Regions from separate parts of the Homo sapiens genome. Here region 2 is linked to region 1. The links are contacts of gene promoters, found by promoter capture Hi-C in blood cells and fetal thymus (Javierre and others, 2016). All regions are on one chromosome and are shown on one strand. The core of a region is centred on a gene start or on the middle of the fragment in contact, and the rest is flanking DNA. Distances in the headings are between cores, read along the strand shown. Region 1 holds the start of DCAF7 (DDB1 and CUL4 associated factor 7). Region 2 overlaps TANC2 (tetratricopeptide repeat, ankyrin repeat and coiled-coil containing 2).

What was found. Contacts are between HindIII fragments. The CHiCAGO score rates a contact against its expected background, and 5 or more counts as called.
Region 2: a fragment that was not itself captured here is called in contact with the fragment with the promoter of DCAF7 in region 1 in 1 of 17 cell types (activated CD4 T cells); the score reaches 5.7 in activated CD4 T cells.

What each region holds. Positions count from the first base shown.
Region 1 is chr17:63,545,476-63,551,946 of GRCh38, forward strand. It overlaps DCAF7 (DDB1 and CUL4 associated factor 7), which reads left to right and starts at 5,002. Exons shown (of 7, transcript NM_005828.5): 1 at 5,002-5,340. The coding sequence starts at 5,203. KCNH6 (potassium voltage-gated channel subfamily H member 6) reads left to right here. Exons shown (of 13, transcript NM_001278919.2): 13 at 134-1,252. The coding sequence ends at 427. RefSeq lists enhancers at 3,932-4,916, 4,216-4,605, 5,046-5,125 and silencers at 5,276-5,325, 5,346-5,495. The HindIII fragment of the contact is 8,271 bases long and covers 1-5,809 here.
Region 2 is chr17:63,414,126-63,420,596 of GRCh38, forward strand. TANC2 (tetratricopeptide repeat, ankyrin repeat and coiled-coil containing 2) reads left to right here. Exons shown (of 28, transcript NM_001394998.1): 26 at 1,403-1,549; 27 at 4,182-4,282; 28 at 5,874-6,471. It overlaps LOC105371856 (a long non-coding RNA gene), which reads right to left and starts at 305. Exons shown (of 4, transcript NR_188626.1): 1 at 282-305; 2 at 29-186. The HindIII fragment of the contact is 3,917 bases long and covers 327-4,243 here.

The DNA of each region.
Region 1 (6,471 bases), core at 3,752-6,251:
CTGGGGCCAGGGCAGCAGGACCCTGAGGTGTGGGAAGGGCAGGTACAATTTTTGCCTGATCCCATCCCTGAAATCAGGGTGGATTAACCCGCAGCCTGGCCTGGGGTGCATCCCTCTTTCTTGCTCCTCCCAGACCCCAAGCTATGGAGACTTGGATGACTGTAGTCCAAAGCACAGGAACTCCTCCCCCAGGATGCCTCACCTGGCTGTGGCAACGGACAAAACTCTGGCACCATCCTCAGAACAGGAACAGCCTGAGGGGCTCTGGCCACCCCTAGCCTCACCTCTACATCCCCTGGAAGTACAAGGACTCATCTGTGGTCCCTGCTTCTCCTCCCTCCCTGAACACCTTGGCTCTGTTCCCAAGCAGCTGGACTTCCAGAGACATGGCTCAGATCCTGGATTTGCAGGGAGTTGGGGCCACTGAACTCCAAGATAAAGACACCATGAGGGGACTGAAGGTGGGCAAGGTGAGAGTTAAGGATCTTGGGGAGGTGGCCGGGTGCAGTGGCTCGCCTGTAATCCCAGCACTTTGGGAGGCCGAGGCGGGCGGATCAGACCATCCTGGCTAACACGGTGAAACCCCACCTCTACTAAAATTAAAAAAGAAAAAAAATAGCCGGGCGTGGTGGCAGGCGCCTGTAATCCCAGCTACTGGGGAGGCTGAGGCAGGAGAATGGCATGAACCCGGGAGGTGGAGGTTGCAGGGAGCCGAGGCCGCACCACTGCACTCCAGCCTGGGTGACAGAGTGAGACTCCAACTCAAAAAAAAAAAAAAAAAAGATCTTGGGGAGGCAGACAGCCCCCCAGATGGGCCTCTCCTAAAGTAGCTACAAACTGCTGATCCAGGTGACCCAGGATGGCGTGGGTGAAGAAGCTCACGACTTTTCCCAGCCTCCTCCAGGGCTCCATTTAAACAGCAAGCCTGGTGCAGGGTGGGAGAGTCTCAGGTGTGGAGGCAGCTTACAGGATTGAGGGGGCAGTGAAGAAAGAGGTTTCTGATCTACATGAGTACCTTGCTCTGAGCCTCCCAGCTCAGAACCCTCCAGCACCTCATGGCTCAGCACCAAGGCCCGGGGTTGGTCAGAACTCTTACCATGAGCCTCTGACCTGGCTGGAGATGGAGGTATGTTCTGTGGCAGACATGTCAGGACAGTCCTCCAGCCCTCTGCTCCTGATGGTTCTGTGACATTGGGTCTCTTGAGGGCAGTGGAGTGTCACACAGCTAATAAAGTACACATTTCATGTTGGACTGGGTGTGTAACTTATCTGAAGGTCATTACGTCTTTGACTGTGCTGTGGCTTTCTCCAAACCCTTCTTGTAAGGAGCTGCAGACTTACCCTCCACCATATCCAGTGTGTTGGGGACCTGAAGGTGGTTCTGCTGGGCCCAGAGGCTCCTGGAGCCTGGGGCTGTTAGGCCGAGGTGAAGGGAAGCAGAGGCACTGGCTTGGTGGCCCTAGGGGATCATGACAACAGCCAACACTTCGGTAGCACTCGCCCCGTACCAGGCACTGTGCTGACAGCTCTGCAGATACTTGTTCATCTAATCCTCAAAACAACCCCAACGGGTTGGTATTATTATCCCCATTTTACAGATGTGGGATCAGTAGCAGAGAGACTAAGACACCCAAACATGAGGGGGATTTCTGAGGTGCAGGTACTGTTCTGTTTCCTGATCTAGGTGCTGGTTACAGGTGTTCAGGTTGCGAAAGAGTGTGCTTCTGTGTGTAAATTATACCTCAGTTAAAAAGAAAATAAAAATAAAAAAAGAGGCCAGGTGTAGTGGCTCATGCCTGTAATCCCAGGGCTTTGGGAGGAGGATGAGGCAGGAGGACTGCTTGAGGCCAGGAGTCCAAGGTTACAGTAAGCCGTGATTGCATCACTGAACTCACACCCTGGGCAAGGGAATAAGACCCTGTCTCAAAATGAAAATTTTAAAAATCATCCCCGTGCCCAACACGGGGCATTTGTATTGACCCATTTCTACCCAAATAGCAGCGATTTGAGAGCCACCACCATCTATTTTAAAAACACAAGAAACCCTTCTTTAACATCGTTCTTTTTTCTTTTCTCATAATTCCCACTTATTCCTCCCATAGTTTTATCCTACATGTAATTTATTGGTATGCTTCAAAGCCTAATATTGATCACCCTATCATATGTTTGCAACACAAATATGTATACAGGCTGGGTGCAGTGGCTCACTCATGCCTGTAATCCCAACACTTTGGGAGGCTGAGGCTGGAAGATTGCTTGAGCCAGGAATTCAAGACCAGCCTGGGCAGCATAGCTCAACCTGGTCTCTACAAAACAATTTTTTTTTAATTAGCCAAGCATTGTGATGCGCACCTGTAGTCCCAGGTACTACAGGGCTTGCTGGGAGGCTTGGGTGGGAGAGTCACTTGAACCTAAGAGGTCAAGACTGCAGTAAGCCATGTTCATGCAACTGTACTCCAGCCCGGGTAACAGAGCAAGACTCGGTCTCTTAAAAAAAAAAAAAAAAGTGGCTGGGCGCAGTGGCTCACACCTGTAATCCCAGCACTTTGGGAGGCTGAGGTGGGCAGATCACGAGGTCAGGAGATCAAGACCATCCTGGCTAACAGGGTGAAACCCCATCTCTACTAAAAATACAAAAAAAATAGCCAGGCGTGGTGGCAGGTGCCTGTAGTCCCAGCTACTCGGGAGGCTGAGGCAGGAGAATGGCGTGAACCCAGGAGGTGGAGCTTGTAGTGAGCCAAGATCGTGCCACTGCACTCCAGCGTGGGCAACAGAGCAAGACTCCGTTTCAAAAAAAAAGTAGGTCGGTCATGGGGTGGCTCATGCCTATAATCCCAGCATTTTGGGAGGCTGAGGTGGGAGGACCAGTTGAACCCAGCCTGGGCAACATAGCAAGATCTTGTCTCTACAAAAAATAAAGGAGGCAGGAGGATTGCTTGAGCCCGGGAGGTCAAGGCTGCAATAAGCACTGTTTGCCCCACTGCACCACCACCTGGATAACAGAGCAAGACCCTGCCTCAAAACGAATGTGTATAAATTAATTGACATTTTAAAATTAATTTTTGTAACCTTAATAAGGCTTTAAGGGTTACATCTATTAGTAGTACAGTTGTTCAAAACAACATAAATATATATTCAATTTTCTAATAAAAACTAAAATTTTATTGGAAATATACGTCATAAAAGAGAAAATTTCCTCCCCCCGTTAGTTCCTATATCTGTGGATAAATATCATTATTTTTTATTAGAATAAGACAAGGTACCGCGAATTTTGTACGTCTTTTTCTTTCCTTTTTAAATTTGTTTTTAAACTTTCCTCCTTACAGGGGATTTCCTTTAGCTGGGCATGGTGGCGGGCGCCTGTAATCCCAGCTACTCAGGAGGCTGAAGCAAGAGAATCACTTGAACCCTAAAGGCAGAGGTTGCAGTGAGCCGAGATAGTGCCACTGCACTACAGCCCGGGCGACAGAGTGAGACTCCATCTCAAAAATAAAATAAAATTAAAAAAAAAAGAGGATTTCTTGGCCAGATGCGGTGGCTCACGCCTGTAATCCCAACACTTTGGGAGGCCGAGGCTGGAAGATCATTTGAGGTCAGGAGTTCGACACCAGAATGGCCAACATGGTGAAACCCCATCTCTACTAAAAATACAAAAATTAGCTGGCTGTGGTGGTGCACCCCTGTAATCTCAGCTACTCGGGAGGCTGAAGCAGGAGAATCACTTGAACCTGGGAGGTGGAAAAATCATTTATCATTAAAAATTATATTTAGTGCCCAGAATGGTGGCTCAAGCCTGTAATCCCAGTACTTTAGGATGCTGATGTGGGAGGATCGCTTGAGCCCAGGAGTTCGAGATCAGCCTGGGCAACATGGAGAGATCTCATCTCTACAAATAATAATTTAAAAATAGCTAGGTGTGGTGGCAAATGTCTGTGGTTCCAGCTACTCCAGAGGCTAAAGTGGGGGAATCGTTTGAACCTAGGCAGTCCAGGCTACAGTGAGCCCTTATCACACCAGTGCACTCCAGCCTGGGTGACAGGGCAAGACCCTGTCTTTAAAAAAAAAAAAAAAAAGTATTTAATGTTATCATCCAACAATTCAATACAAACCTCCTTCAATTTTGATGAAAGCTGAGAATTGGAAATAATTTATATAAAGGTGTCATTTGGTCTCTGGCCCTTCCCCTTTTCCAACTCACAGGCACAGATACCTTTGGGGCTGGATTAGCATTTGCGTTGGGATCCACGGCGGGAAGGGTACAGGATGGGAACTGACAAAAACAGAGCCAAGCTGGTCGGGTCGGTGCCTACCCCAGAATTCGGGGACATTTCTAGATCCTGCAGGAAAGCGCGGGAGGGCCTGACTCAAGCTGGCCTGGCCCTGAGCGCATCTGCGCGCCCGAAGCCTGTCCCTGAGGCACGGAGAGAGCAGCTTTCGGGTTAAAAGGGCCCTGGGAAGAGATGGGGCGGGAAGGTGGTACCCGTTGGGCGCAGGCCAGGCTGCCAGGCCGCAGGGCTCTGTCCCGCGAAAGTCAGTAGGTCTTCCACTAAGGCAGAATTGTACTTTTACTCGACAGCGTGGAGAGGCCGCTCAGAACAGCAGCAGCGGAGGGGAAGTCAGCGCAGGTCACAGACGGTTTCACTCTCAGAGACTTGGCCTAGAACTTGGAGGCCCGCTGCTACAGCACGCTCGCCTCCAGGCCACCCACGCCCCCACCACCCGCACTGAGCCGTTATCTGCCTGACTGACATCTTGGCCAACCAATGACCTTTGGGGCTGCCAAAGCGCCTGCCTCCGAGAGTTGGGCGGGGCGAGTAGTTGCAATGACAAACATTTAACCCAATAGCGAGGAGATTTCAGACGCTACGGCCGCAATAACCAATGACAAGAAAGAATCCTTTCGAAAGGACGTGTCAGGCAACCAACGGCCGGTGCCGCTGCGGGGGTCCGGCGGCTTCCGTTCCGAGAGGGCGGGGCGGCGTCCCAAAACGGAAGGTGGTTGTCGTCCGTTCCCAAGCTGGTTTGAAACTAGGGGTCGGGCTCGGCCGTCGTCGTTGTTTGTCGCCGCATCCCCGCTTCCGGGTTAGGCCGTTCCTGCCCGCCCCCTCCTCTCCTCCCTTCGGACCCATAGATCTCAGGCTCGGCTCCCCGCCCGCCGCAGCCCACTGTTGACCCGGCCCGTACTGCGGCCCCGTGGCCACCATGTCCCTGCACGGCAAACGGAAGGAGATCTACAAGTATGAAGCGCCCTGGACAGTCTACGCGATGAACTGGAGTGTGCGGCCCGATAAGCGCTTTCGCTTGGCGCTGGGCAGCTTCGTGGAGGAGTACAACAACAAGGTGGGCCGGGCAGGGGCTCGGAACCCAGCTGGCGGGGAGCGGGCCCCGGGAGCGCCCTTTCCGGGCCGGAGCCCAGGCCTCAGAACCCTCTTGCGGACTCGCCCTAGGGCCACGGAGCGGTTCCTCTGTCTGGCCCTGTGCTGAAGGTTTCGTACTCGTTGTCTGTCTCCTTTAATCCAGGCAGCATTCTTGTGTAGTCGGCAGTGTAGTGGGGAAACTGAGGCACGGTTTTGTGACTTGCCTGGGTCAGGCAGCTATTTCGGGGTGGAAACAGGTCTTAAAACCGGGTTTACGCCCCAAAGATACTCCATTTATTCATCCCGTGCTCTCCACTCCTGCCGCATTGCTTTCGTTGGTGGGCGGGGAAGGGAAGAGAGAGTGATAGCTGTGAAGGAAAATGCAGGCGCTTCTATTGGTGGTCGTGCACTCCTGGCCACACTAGATTTCTATTAAGACGATCTATTGTACAAGCTTCCCCGCCCCCTACTCCCACCCCCCCCGGGTACTCATGGATCCTAGCCCTTCTGCCAGAATTACTGTTGCTCTTGCTTCCTGATATCCATTCTCTCTAAAGCAATCTCTTTGGAAATCTTGGCCTGTGGCATGATCCCGCCGTTGTTTCCTGAACACAGAAGGATGACAGGGCCTTATCTCTTGGCTTGTTTCGTGCTAGTACAGTTGTGTGACCTTTAGTAGTAAGTCTTGCTGGACATACATCAATTTGAGAATCCTTTATAGAAGCACGGTGTAGTAGGGGAGCTTTTAAACTGGCATTGCAACAAACTCATTTTTGAAAGTTGAATAAGTCAGTTGGAAGAATTTTCTTTCTTCCTTTTACTCAAAGTTGTGAATGATAGCGATCAGAGCAACTGAAAGCTGTGGCTAGTGATATTTAAAGCCACTACTCCTGCTTTATGCCATGAACATCAGATTTAAGAAGAGTAAAACTGGCCGGGCGCGGTGGCTCACGCCTGTAATCCCAGGACTTTGGGAGGCCGAGGCGGGCGGATTACCTGAGCTCAGGAGTTCGCGACCAGCCTGGGTAACACGGTGAAACCCCGTCTCTACTAAAATACAAAAAAAAAAAAAAAAAAAAAAAAAAAAAAAAAAAAAAAAGCCGGGCGTAGCTTA
Region 2 (6,471 bases), core at 1,035-3,534, 130 kb before region 1:
AAAAACTGTGGAGGCTTTTTGTACTCACAGTCCAAGCTGAAGGCTCCATACCCTGACACAAATGAATTCCTTGGTCTATTACATGTCAAAGTCATCGCACTGGATCAGCTGGATTACCCTGTCCCGAAGCTTCATACAAATCCAACCCAGTTTTTGGCAGCAGTCATCACTGACACTTCCCCAAGACTAAAAGATAAGGAGAAATAGTTGTGAAGCATATTATTCTCACCTGTGTCAGGAGTGTACAAGTTCCTAGGAGCAGAATTCTATCTTCTAAGTACCCTTTGAATGAGTCACGGTAATCTAGGACTCCCAGGCTTTCAGGAAGCTTAAGCCCTGGCCCAACCTTGATTTTACGTGACTTCATAGAAGGTCCTCATTACCCTAGATGTCATATTTATGGACTTCACAATGGCATTACTCTCAGATTATGTCCTGGTTATAGCATAACTTCTGGTATTCTGAGGCGAGGAGTCCTCTTAATGAAAATATGCAGTGCCATTATTGTTCCCCTCAGAATTCTACCTTGAAAGACTCCAAATCTCTCCTTAGTGAATGGTGCTAAGGGAAAAGTAAAAGACTGGGATCCCTGTGGAGTTGTAACTATAGAGAAGGAATAGAGTGGATAAAGATCAGCTAAAGGGGTGGGAGATGCCGCCTGCATCTTTCTGGTCTCAGCTTATAGATTTTCAGATACAAAGTGGAAGAAAAGTTCAAGGTCGCTGTGGCCAGATCTCTAAATTGGTCATAGATTTACTTCCTCTTGGATAATCCCTCCTGCAACATCAGATGGAATCACAAACTCTAAACTTCACTTTTCTACTGCCACCCTACTCCATGCCTTTCCAAAAATGGGGAACACTGATTGGTATTATTTTATGCCATGAGATTAGGGAAGCAACTGCTAGACTGCTTTAGCTCCCACATCCTTCATGAGGAAGAGAGTGACTTCTAGAGGGCTGGCCAGGTGGAGCGTCAGACCAAAAAAACAGTTCTCCAGACAAGCCAGAAATTAAGGAGGAAGTAATAACTTTGGAGTGCTTGGGGTTAGGAAGTCATATGTGTTATAGAGAGCAAAGGAACTTTGAAATGAGCATGGTCAGCCTCTTTGGAATCCAGTTGGGAAGTCAGGGTCCAGGGCCTTCCATTTGCCAAGGCTTTGCCTCCCTGGCTTGTATCTTGGGTATCCCCTCAACCTTGCCTTTCCTGCCAGGTGAGTTTCCTATAGAAAAGACTAGACCCTTCTGCCCTCACCATCAGGGCCAGAACTCCTCTCTAGGCTGGCGTTTGGGAGGGTTAGCCCTTAGTAACAGCTGCTGAGAAGAAGAAGGGAGTGGGGACCACACTTCCTCAGCTGTTCAGCAGACCAACTGTGTGTTTCGCCATCTTGTGCTCCCATTAGAAAGGTAAAGTAAAGGAAGCTGCCCAGCGCTACCAGTACGCCCTGAAGAAGTTCCCTAGAGAAGGGTTTGGTGAGGACTTGAAAACTTTCCGGGAACTAAAGGTGTCTCTCCTCCTCAACCTCTCTCGGTGTCGCAGGAAAATGAACGTAAGTCCCTGTCACCCCAACTCCTTTCTGCAATCCTGGTAGCTGATAGCCTGTGTCACTCACTAGCTTTTACCAGGCCCCTGAAATCCTCCTCTGCCCCATTTGGAACTTGGTTGTCCTTCACAGAGCACTGACATTTGCAATTTGAAAGAAATCAAGTCTAAGTACAATCTGTATCTCAAACTGTACAGAAATTAATGCTGCGAGTACTTTGCAGCTTTCTGAATGTTCATAATTTAACTGAAAGTGATGAGAATACCATCTTTCCCACCCCCATACCACCAAGTCAGTGTTCTGGTCTTTGGGAAAATGTGAGAGCAGTGGTCACTAGAATTCCAGTTGCAATTAGATGTGAATTGTAGTCATTACTCTCAGGTATATTCCCTTATCATTTGAAGAAGGGCTAAGGAGAGGGCTTGGACCATGGTCTTGAAGGTTTAATTTCTGAGGCTATCGAACTTTTCGCCTCTTTCCTCATCTTTGTATCCCAGCATGCTATGTCCCTTCTTGTCCTAGGGGGAATCTCAGAACTCCCCCTGGACCTTTATCGTCTCCCTGGTAAGCCACGGTCCTTCCTGCCTACCTTGCAGACCCATCTCACATGTCCCCAGACACTGCTCCCTCAGCCACTGCCCTTTAACGTGAAGACACTCCAAGCCAAGAACCCTCTCTCAGGTTTTGGAAATAGCTAAGATTGTGTCAGGAGTCTCTGACATCTACCTGCCTGAGGTCTCACAGTTCCTCAGGAGATAAAAATAATCCAAGCCAAACAGATGTATTGATCAATTAAAAACTCAGCTGGACAGAAGCAAGATTTGAACCTCATGGCCAGGGATCTTCCAGAAAGATTTGTGTGTGTAACCTTTAGATCATCCATTCCAGACCCTAAACCCTGACACTGGAAGGAACCTGAGTTAAACCTGACTGTCTCAGAGAACATAGCCATGACCTTCAGAGGCAGAGTTAAACCTGACTGTCTCAGAGAACACAGCCATGACCTTCAGAGGCAGAGTTAAACCTATCTCAGAGAACACAGCCATGACCTTCAGAGGCAGAGTTAAACCTGACTGTCTCAGAGAACACGGCCATGGCCCTCAGAGGCAGAGTTGCTCCAGGGTGCTGAGGGAAGTGGGGATGTGGAAGAGGCCCCCCAACCCCGGGAAGGGAGAAGGTGGCGGTCTCGGGAGACAGATTTTCATGCTCTTGGGGTCTCCTGTGAAATGAAAGGAACAGCACCAAGGCCTCCCCTGCACCAGCCGATGAGGATGAGGCAAAGCTCAGAAGTTGCTGCCAACCCACTGATCTCTTTTCCCTACCAAATAATAGACTTTTTAAAAATGCCCTCATATTTTTAGGAATAATGATGGTCCCAAAAGAACAAATAAAAGGGTAAGGCTGGAAGCAGAGCAGGGAGAGGGTGACCCATAAAAGCTGAAATTCTTTCTAGCTCCACATTTGTTCAGAAGCGGTTGTTAATCACCTCCTGGGCCAATACTGTGCCAAACACCAGACGTCTGTCTTCTTAGGTAGAGGATTTCCCATCAACTTTTAAAAAATTTTTTTACCTATGCCCCAGGGCCTTTGTTCTGCCCAAGGCCTTGTTTTCTGCCTTAGGACTCATGACCATAACCAGAGGCTACCATGCTATACTGTGGCTTTGACACTAAAAGAAGGGGAAAGCCTTCTCTTTTAGCTTAGTATTTAAGGGAATACTGAAAACCATAGGCTGCCTAGTCGGCGTTGTTCCCCACCCCACCCCCCAGTCTCTGTTTCCAGGGGTTCTCAGGAATGACATGCCTGTGAGCGTGTTCCTCTAGGGAGAGCACAGACCTCAGTCACAGCTGGGGTCTTCTCTTGTTTTGTTTTATTTTTAATTTTAAGTGTTTCCTAAGTAAGGAACCAGTTAAAAAAAGGAACAGATCAGAGAAGCCTCTGTGAAATAGAAAGAAAACGATAATTAATGAGCACCTACTATGTGCCGGGAACTGTGCAGGGCTTTTAAATACTGTATCACACTTGATCCTACCCCCGGGGTAGGTATGGATGAGAAAATACACTATACACTTGGGGGTTATGAAGCTGGTCAGAGAATTGAACCCAGGTCTGTCTGACACCCCCTCTCCCTCTAGTCTCTGTAGTCAGTGCAGTTTCCTTTACAGACGTCATCCTCCCGGACTTTACAGGACACCTTCTCACCTGTCCCTTAGAAAGCCACAGTGTAGTGCATGTAGCAGGAAGGTGTGGGGCTCAGACCAGGGTCCACGTGAAATGTGGACATGTGTGCGTTTGCCTCCTACATGCATGGATAACTTCAGGAGCTTCACTGGAAAGGGTTGGTGTTTGGCTTCCGGGCTGAGAACTTTATTAGAAAGGCAAAAAGAGGGAAAATTAAAACTATTTTAATATTCTGGGCAGATAAAGTCCAGTGAGCAGTCGCAGCGCTACACAGGACAAAGGCAGAAGGAACTTTCAGTCCACAGGCCACGCGGCTTGAGCCATGTCAGGCACGTCTAGCGTCCCAGGCGTTCCATCCATGAATGTCAAAAAATGTACAAATAATTTGTTTTATTCCCAAGTTGTCTATTTTTTATATCTCATCAATGACTCATTTGCACACCTATTGTAATGACAGGATTTTGGAATGGCGGAGGAATTTGCTACTAAGGCCCTGGAGCTGAAACCGAAATCTTATGAAGCTTACTATGCGAGAGCAAGGGCAAAACGCAGCAGCAGGTGAGGAGAGAGAGAGAGGGTGAAAGCAAGAGGTCTCTTTTCTGAAAATTTGGCCAAGGCAGCGTCGGCCACCCTGGGGCATATGTACCCAAATACATCTCTGTCCTTGAGAACTGTCAGGGCCAAGCTTTGGGGATGGCTCCCATAGCACAGCCCTCAGCTCAAGATCAGCAAATCTGCTGGGCTGTGGAGGCCACGAATGTTTCACTTCGGGAGAAAAACACTTTTTCACTGGAGAATGGCAGCTTCTTCCAAGAAGCCTCTGCCGTATCTCAGGCATTTTTCAACCCCCAGAGCAGCTAGCACAAAGAGACAACGGCGACTTAAAGAAATCACTTAAGCAGAGCACCCCACCCCCGCTTTAGAGGGAAAGTAGGATGGTTCACTTAACATCACAGGTTCCTCTTCCTTCTCCCATAGGCGTTTGAGGAATCCCGGATTAGTTAGTCTTCCCTCTGGGGCTCTCCTCAAGTCTGGTGGCATCAGACCCCCTTCCACCTAAACCATCACCCACCACACACACACAGAGTCAAGAGGTCCTTGCTGCCAGGATGGAGAGGACCCTCTAAGAGAACACCATTCCACATTCCTTGTGCCCATCTGCTTTAGTTTGGCCACTGGGCAGAAAAGCTCCCAGAATAACCTAGAACCTGCCATCAGTGATCTTTGTGTAACTTGTCACTGTCTCTTATGCCTCCTGCCCTCCTCCTCCCCAGCTGCATGGGAAAGAACTGCTTCAGGTTCACTGCTATGGCCAGGGGCACATGGTCCCGAAAATCACACCCAGCTTGAGGCTAGTGATGGTGGTGGCAGTGATCGCACTCTTACCTAGCTGGGGCAACGAAGTCCTCACAGAAATCTGACTGAAATTCTCCTTCCCTCTGGGTAGTTCCTTTTTCACAAGGTCAGTTGCCCCTGTCAGGTGATATTAGTAGAGAAGATGGGAATGTCTCTGACAGTTCATTTCTTCATTTGTAAATTAGAGTCTCCTTGGAGTCAGCTCAGCTCCAGCCCCGAGTGACCTAGTCAGCAAGCCTAATGCCTGCCCCACTTTGATAGAGCAAATGGAGACACAGCAATTCTGAGAGATGAGGGTTAGAAAGGGCAGAGGACAGGGTTCTTGCCTAGAGTAGAACAGGCCTGAAATTTGGAGCTAAAATATTGAGAATATAAAGAAAAATTTCTGCTGGATCAGCAAGATTTTTAAATATGTAGTTTTTTTTGTTCCTAAGCTACTTGACAGTGACCCTGTAAATGACAACCCCACCCAACTCTCATACTGCCTGGTGTGTGTTTGGGCACCAAAACAACTTCCCGAAGGGCCTGGCTGGACTGACAAAATGGGGCATTTCTCCACTATTCCCAGAGAGGCCAGAAGGAAGATGGAGGCCGAATGGGTTAGGGAATCATTCGGACTCTTCCAGAATGAGTCTTCCTGTTTCCTTCCCTATAAATCCAACTAAACCGAAATACCCCAGACTCCCACAGACGCCACCACAGCTCTCTGAGATAGTGACCATGTTCTCAGCTCTTGGTGATTTCTCTGGATTCAGAATAACTCCAGTTCCTGTGTTCACATTTTGTCAAGCAGACAGTTCGCAGCAGCCTTAGAGGACCTGAACGAGGCCATCAAGCTGTGTCCCAACAACCGTGAGATCCAGAGACTTCTGCTGAGAGTGGAAGAAGAGTGTAGACAGATGCAGCAGCCACAGCAGCCACCGCCGCCACCGCAGCCTCAGCAGCAGTTGCCGGAAGAAGCAGAACCTGAGCCACAGCATGAAGACATATACTCTGTACAGGATATATTCGAGGAGGAGTACCTGGAACAGGATGTTGAAAATGTTTCCATTGGCCTCCAGACAGAGGCCCGGCCCAGCCAGGGGCTCCCGGTCATCCAGAGCCCACCCTCCTCTCCCCCGCATCGGGACTCAGCCTACATCTCCAGCTCACCTCTTGGCTCTCATCAGGTTTTTGACTTCCGGTCCAGTAGTTCTGTAGGCTCTCCCACTAGACAGACCTATCAGTCCACCTCACCTGCCCTTTCTCCAACTCATCAGAACTCACATTACAGGCCTAGCCCACCACACACTTCCCCGGCTCATCAGGGAGGATCTTACCGTTTCAGCCCCCCTCCTGTGGGAGGACAGGGCAAAGAATACCCAAGCCCTCCCCCTTCCCCTCTCCGGAGA